2 separate regions of the Homo sapiens genome follow, and region 1 is linked to region 2. The links are contacts of gene promoters, found by promoter capture Hi-C in blood cells and fetal thymus (Javierre and others, 2016). All regions are on one chromosome and are shown on one strand. The core of a region is centred on a gene start or on the middle of the fragment in contact, and the rest is flanking DNA. Distances in the headings are between cores, read along the strand shown. Region 1 holds the start of EXD1 (exonuclease 3'-5' domain containing 1). Region 2 holds the start of KNL1 (kinetochore scaffold 1).

What was found. The method cuts DNA at HindIII sites, captures the fragments that hold promoters and counts their contacts. A CHiCAGO score of 5 or more calls a contact.
Region 1: the fragment with the promoter of EXD1 here is called in contact with the fragment with the promoter of KNL1 in region 2 in 1 of 17 cell types (activated CD4 T cells); the score reaches 5.7 in activated CD4 T cells.

What each region holds. Positions count from the first base shown.
Region 1 is chr15:41,229,481-41,232,180 of GRCh38, reverse strand. EXD1 (exonuclease 3'-5' domain containing 1) reads left to right here and starts at 1,424. Exons shown (of 12, transcript NM_001286441.2): 1 at 1,424-1,702. It overlaps CHP1 (calcineurin like EF-hand protein 1), which reads right to left and starts at 913. Exons shown (of 7, transcript NM_007236.5): 1 at 732-913. The coding sequence starts at 798. RefSeq lists enhancers at 1,070-1,129, 1,150-1,219 and a silencer at 1,340-1,399. The HindIII fragment of the contact is 6,181 bases long and covers 1-2,700 here.
Region 2 is chr15:40,592,796-40,595,502 of GRCh38, reverse strand. It overlaps KNL1 (kinetochore scaffold 1), which reads right to left and starts at 1,254. Exons shown (of 26, transcript NM_144508.5): 1 at 1,111-1,254. It overlaps TRS-GCT4-2 (tRNA-Ser (anticodon GCT) 4-2), which reads left to right and starts at 1,597; the gene lies at 1,597-1,678. RefSeq lists enhancers at 775-1,094, 1,315-1,534 and a silencer at 1,655-1,704. The HindIII fragment of the contact is 4,787 bases long and covers 719-2,707 here.

The DNA of each region.
Region 1 (2,700 bases), core at 175-2,674, 640 kb before region 2:
ATTTTTGGAGCACATCCAATTTCAATAGCGAATAAAAAAGTACACCAGCATAGTAGAAATCAATACATATATGAGATTAGGACAGCAAGTATCGTCGTGTAAGTAAAAAACTGGTGGTCACAGTATCCGTGTTTTTTCTCTAGAAGTTCAGATTGAAAGAAGTCTCACAATCCCAGACCCCTGATTGTTTAAAGGTCTCCAGGCATCGGGTCATGTCTCCCAAAGCCTTACTACACGGTCTTGCTTTCTGGGTGGTTTTCCCAATTTGTGACAAGAACTTGTTTGTAATTTCCCATAGTTGTCAGAGGTTTTAGGTCCTTACCCAGAAACGGATTTTCTACAGAATCCATCTCGAGTTCCTGAATTTGCTTCTCGGGCTTTACCTACTGTTCAGGATGCCTCTTCATAGGGAAGGGTGGTGCGAGGCAACAGAAAGGAAAGGAGTTCGGGGACTTTGATGGGCAGGGTGCAGAAAAGGGGGGCGTCGACGCTCTACGAGTGATCAAGAGTCCCGATTTTGAAGGGAAGGACAGCCCCACAGTAGCTAGAGCCCCGCTCCAGGAAGCTGCAGCTGGAAGAACAGGTCTTCCAGCTCTCGGTCCCCAAACCTGGAGGCTGCCCAGGACCCCCCAACCTCACAGGCACCCGAGCTCCAGACCTTAGCGACAGCCGCCCTTGGTTGTGAGGCCAGCCTGAGGCGCCCGGCGTTCCCACCCCCAACCCGAACTCACAGCCGGTCTCCTTCTTGATCTCCTCGAGCTCTTCGTCCCGCAGTAACGTGGAGGCCCGAGAACCCATCGCCGTGCCGGGAGCTCCTCCGGGAGCAGCGGCGCCAGAAGAGACGGCGACAGGAGGGAAGGAGGGAGGGAAGGAAGGGCTAGGGGTCAAGAAGGGAGAGGGCAGTGTTTCCACTGCGGACCCGGGAGGGAACCCAGGGGTGGTGCGCTGGGGAGGGCGGCCCCGAGGACCCGCCAATCAGGCGCGAGGCAGCGCCCGGCTCAGGAGCCAACGTCAGCGTTCGAGTTCCAGCCCCGAATGAATCAGCCCAGCTCCAGCCCAAGTCCTGCTGAAGACGGACCCCGCCCCCGGAACCGCAGCTGCCACCGGCCTTAAAGGGGCGATGCCACTCGGTCGCTAACGACGCAATTAAAAGGGCAACGTCATTGACCAACAGTTTTACAACAAACTAACCTGCGACAGGCAGCGTAGTCTACCTTTTCTCACAGGAATCGAACACTAGGAATCCTACTCGATAGGTGGCACGGATTGCGGAGAGAAACTTCGCGTGGGGGGGAACCCTAGGGTGTACCCTTCGGGGACTGCACGCGCTCTTCATCTTTCCTGGCTGCCGTCCTCCTCCCGGCCGCAGGGGGCGCTGGGGAGCCGGCCTCGGGGCCGCGTGCTGATTGGCTCCTCGGGAAACAGACGAGACTGGACGTTGGGCCGGGCGGGCGTCGCCTCTGCGGCGTGTGTCCCCGGCGTCGCGGACCTTTCTCCAGGTTTTCAGCCTGTGATTTGATAACCGCCGCCGGGTGGCGTGGAGCGTCCCGAGACTTCTTCCTTCATTGCAGCCCCTCTTCTTTTAGTTCTAGACTGAAGTTCGAGGAACGCACCACTTGGCTGAAATTAGGATCCAGATTTCCCAAACTTCCTTCGGAGGAAAAAGCCCTAACGATGGAGGACAGTGAATTCCTAGCTTATGGTCCGCCATTTATTTGAAGTTCCTTATTTTGTCTTAAAAATGAGAAATTTTGCATTTTATTCTCATGGTGTATTGTTTGTTTTGATTAAAAAGGTAGGCCTGGCACGGTGGCTCACGCCTGTAATCCCAGCACTTTGGGAGGCCGAGGTGGGCAGAACACCTGAGGTCGTGAGTTCGAGACCAGCCTGACCAATATGGAGAAACCCCATCTCTAATAAAAATACAAAATTATCCGGGTGTGGTGCCGCGTGCCTGTAATCCCAGCTACTCGGGAGGCTGAGGCAGGAGAATCGCTTGAACCCGGGAGGCGGAGGTTGCAGTGAGCCGAGATCGCGGCATTGCTCTCCAGCCTGGGTGACAGAGCAAGACTCCGTCTCAAAAAAAAAAAAAAAAAAAGGTAAAAGCCACCCGTTAAATTAGTGCCTACTCTCAGGTGAACCAGTTCTTACTGCTTCACCTGCCTTACCCCTTCACACCTGTTTGGTTAGAACACGTATAAGATAAGGAAGAACCGAATTCTGACTGCTGTTAGTACCCAAGTACCAGGATATTTTTGTCGTAGCAGGCTTTCCCAGGTCAACTTAAGTTACTAGTTTTAAGTGTTACCTAAGGCTTTACAGCTTAGCCTGAGGCCCCACACGTTCCCTGCAAGCTGAGGTTCTAGTTTGAAGAACTAGAGTTTTGTTTGTTTGTTGTTGTTGTTGTTGTTTGAGACGGAGTTTTTGCTCTTCTGCCCAGGCTGAAGTGCAAAGGCGCCATCTCAGCTCACCGAAACTTCCGCCTCCCGGGTTCAAGCGATTCTCCTGCCTCAGACTCCCTAGTAGCTGGGGTTACAGGCATGCGCCACCGTGTCCAGCTAATTTTGTATTTTTAGTAGAGACAGGGCTTCTCCATGTTGGTCAGGCTGGTCTCGAACTCCGTATCTCAGGTGATCTGCCCGCTTCAGCCTCCCAAAGTGCTGTGATTACAGGCGTGAGCCACCGCACCTGGCTTGTTTT
Region 2 (2,707 bases), core at 5-2,504:
GCAAAGTCAAGAATTATACTGCTTTGACCCTAACCTTTAATTACCAAAATTTTACCACATATTAACTCCCATCTGTAAATCATCTCTCCAACCAACGTCCACCTCAAATGCGGTCTTCTCCACAAATCCATCACCAAAAGCATCAAATAAGCTCTCCCTTTTCCGTGCTCCCACACCACTTTAGAATGTCCTATAATCTTTTACATTCTGTCTTGTATTCTAGTTATTTGTGTATATTAGTTATTTCCCTTTGTAAACCCCTCTAGGTTTGGGAATCATCTGTCCCCGGCCCTATCACAGGATAAGGAACCCAATAAATATCTACAGGATTCGACGGAAGTGAAAACATCAATTTTAATATCTAGACTGGAATAAGCTTCTGCTTTGGTCTTCATCCACATCCTTTATCTGTTAATGCCTATTAAACCTATCTGTAAAATTCCAATCGGCAATACTTTTTCCTCCCTCAAACTTGAGTATTTAAATAAACGTGAAGAATAAGGGCTTAAATCCTGAGGAATAATGAACAGAAGAGGATTTTTAAAAACTAATTTGCGCAGTACTAATATTGACTTCATTTGTTAAGGTTATTATACTTGCAGAAAACGAAAAATCTGTTACGTGCGGCCAGCACTCCGAGCAGACACCTTAAACCACGAAGAGCTGAGAATTTTAAAATCACTCATTGCTGTCACTTCATTTAGAGCCAAAAAAAGCTTAAGTGAGAAATACAAACAGCCGAGAGGTCCCTAGGGAAGAGCGGCAGGGGTGCAAGAAGAGTCCGCGAGCCCTGACAGAGGACGGCAGGGCGGGGCGGAAGAGGACGCCAAGAGAGCGACGGACAAGCAACCCGAGCCGGGTGGCCGGAGGGGCCGAGGTGCAGGCGGAGAAGTGTTAGGGAAGCGGGAGGCGGCACAACGTACAGGCCGAGGAGGGGAAAAAGGGCACAGTGTGCCCGGCCCGGGGCAGGGGCGTCTACTCGGCCCGGCGCTAACGGAGGCCGCCAGGCTGAGGGAGCGTACCCTACCTCCCACCGCAGGAACTTCAGGGCGCCCAGACAAAACCCGAAGCCTTCCCTGAAGCCCAGAACGAAAGAGTCATTCTCTTTACCTGCCGCGGCAAACCTCCTCGACAAATTTTGCGCAGACTTGTTTGGGGTCCACACGCTCTGAGTTTCCTTAGAGCGGAAACAGACAGCCGCCTCTAGCAGTCCGCTCACAACGCCCGGCTCGCCTCAGTGAAGTATTCAAATCTAACCGCCTAGGTGATGCGCACGCGCAAAGCGGCTCTACGCGTCGGCTCCGCCCCTTAGGTTCCAGACCAACCCTATTTCTAAGACTCCTTTAGGGAAACTACTTTCCCAGACTCCGTGCCAATTTTATTTCCTTCAGCTTTATCTCTTTTTCGACCGAATTTCCTCTGCCCCTCCCCAGTGGAGACCTCCCCCACAATCGTGGGAGCGGCCATCTTCTTTCGATTGCTTGCTATGGAAGTGATTGGACTTTGGCTTCCGTACAAAATGGCGGCTTCCATAACATTGCGTCACAGCCCCTTGATATTACTCCCTATAGCAATCAGGAAACAGTAACTTACCGGGACGAGGTGGCCGAGTGGTTAAGGCGATGGACTGCTAATCCATTGTGCTCTGCACGCGTGGGTTCGAATCCCATCCTCGTCGATGTGGTGGCTTACTTTTGCTTGTAACCAAAGTAAATTTGCAGAGCAGAATAAATTTTTTAATAACCAAAGTAAATTTGCAGAGCAGAATAAATTTTTTAATAACCAAAGTAAATTTGCAGAGCGGAAAAACTTGAATACTTATTATTTATTACTCAATTAATCTGGCACCATCAGTTTCAGGCCTGAAATGTTGAAATACAGTATTTGGAACGTTCTGACATCACAGATAAAGAAAAGGGAGGGAAAGAGACTTTCCAGGAATCAGAAATCATGCTGGATTTAATTTCTTTTTATATGGAGTTAACAACAGTGAATAGAATTCCACAATTATTACCATCCCATATGTTCCAATGCTGCTCTGTTCCAACTTTAACACAGCTCCTAACTGAGGAGTTTCAATTATTGTAGACTGTTACTCTGGGGTTTTTAACACCTGTCCTGATTATGAGATACCAGGTTTCACTTCAAAAGCTACCATGAGACACTTTATCCGGTATTTATTATCTACAGGCACCACATGTTTTACATGAATTACATCACTATAACCCTTGATCATGACAAATATTTTTATTACTCCATTTTACAGATGAGGAGACTGAAAGATTAGCTTGCCCGAGGTTATACAGCTTCTAAATTGAAGAAAGGAGAGTGTAACCCAAATCTACTAGACGCTGGCTTAATCACCCTTCTAATCTGTGCTGTAGATTAATAATTAGTATTTATCAATCCTACACTGTGCTGTAGATTAATAATCAGTATTTATCAATCTTTTGCAGTCATGGTTTACAGATTGTCTCCTCCACAAGGCTGTCTGCATTGCACCATGCTCCACAACACGGCCTCTGGCAGGTGCTTCAGCAAGGTTTGGGCACTGAGTATGGAAAGCAGTGGCCCCATTCTCTGCTGGCTCCAGTGGCTTCTTTCTGTTACAGATCCAAATCCGTTGGGAATGTTGATACCTCCTTGGGCTCAGGACATTGAGTCACCCTTCCTTAGCCTTGCTCTCCAATGCATTCTCTACCCTGCT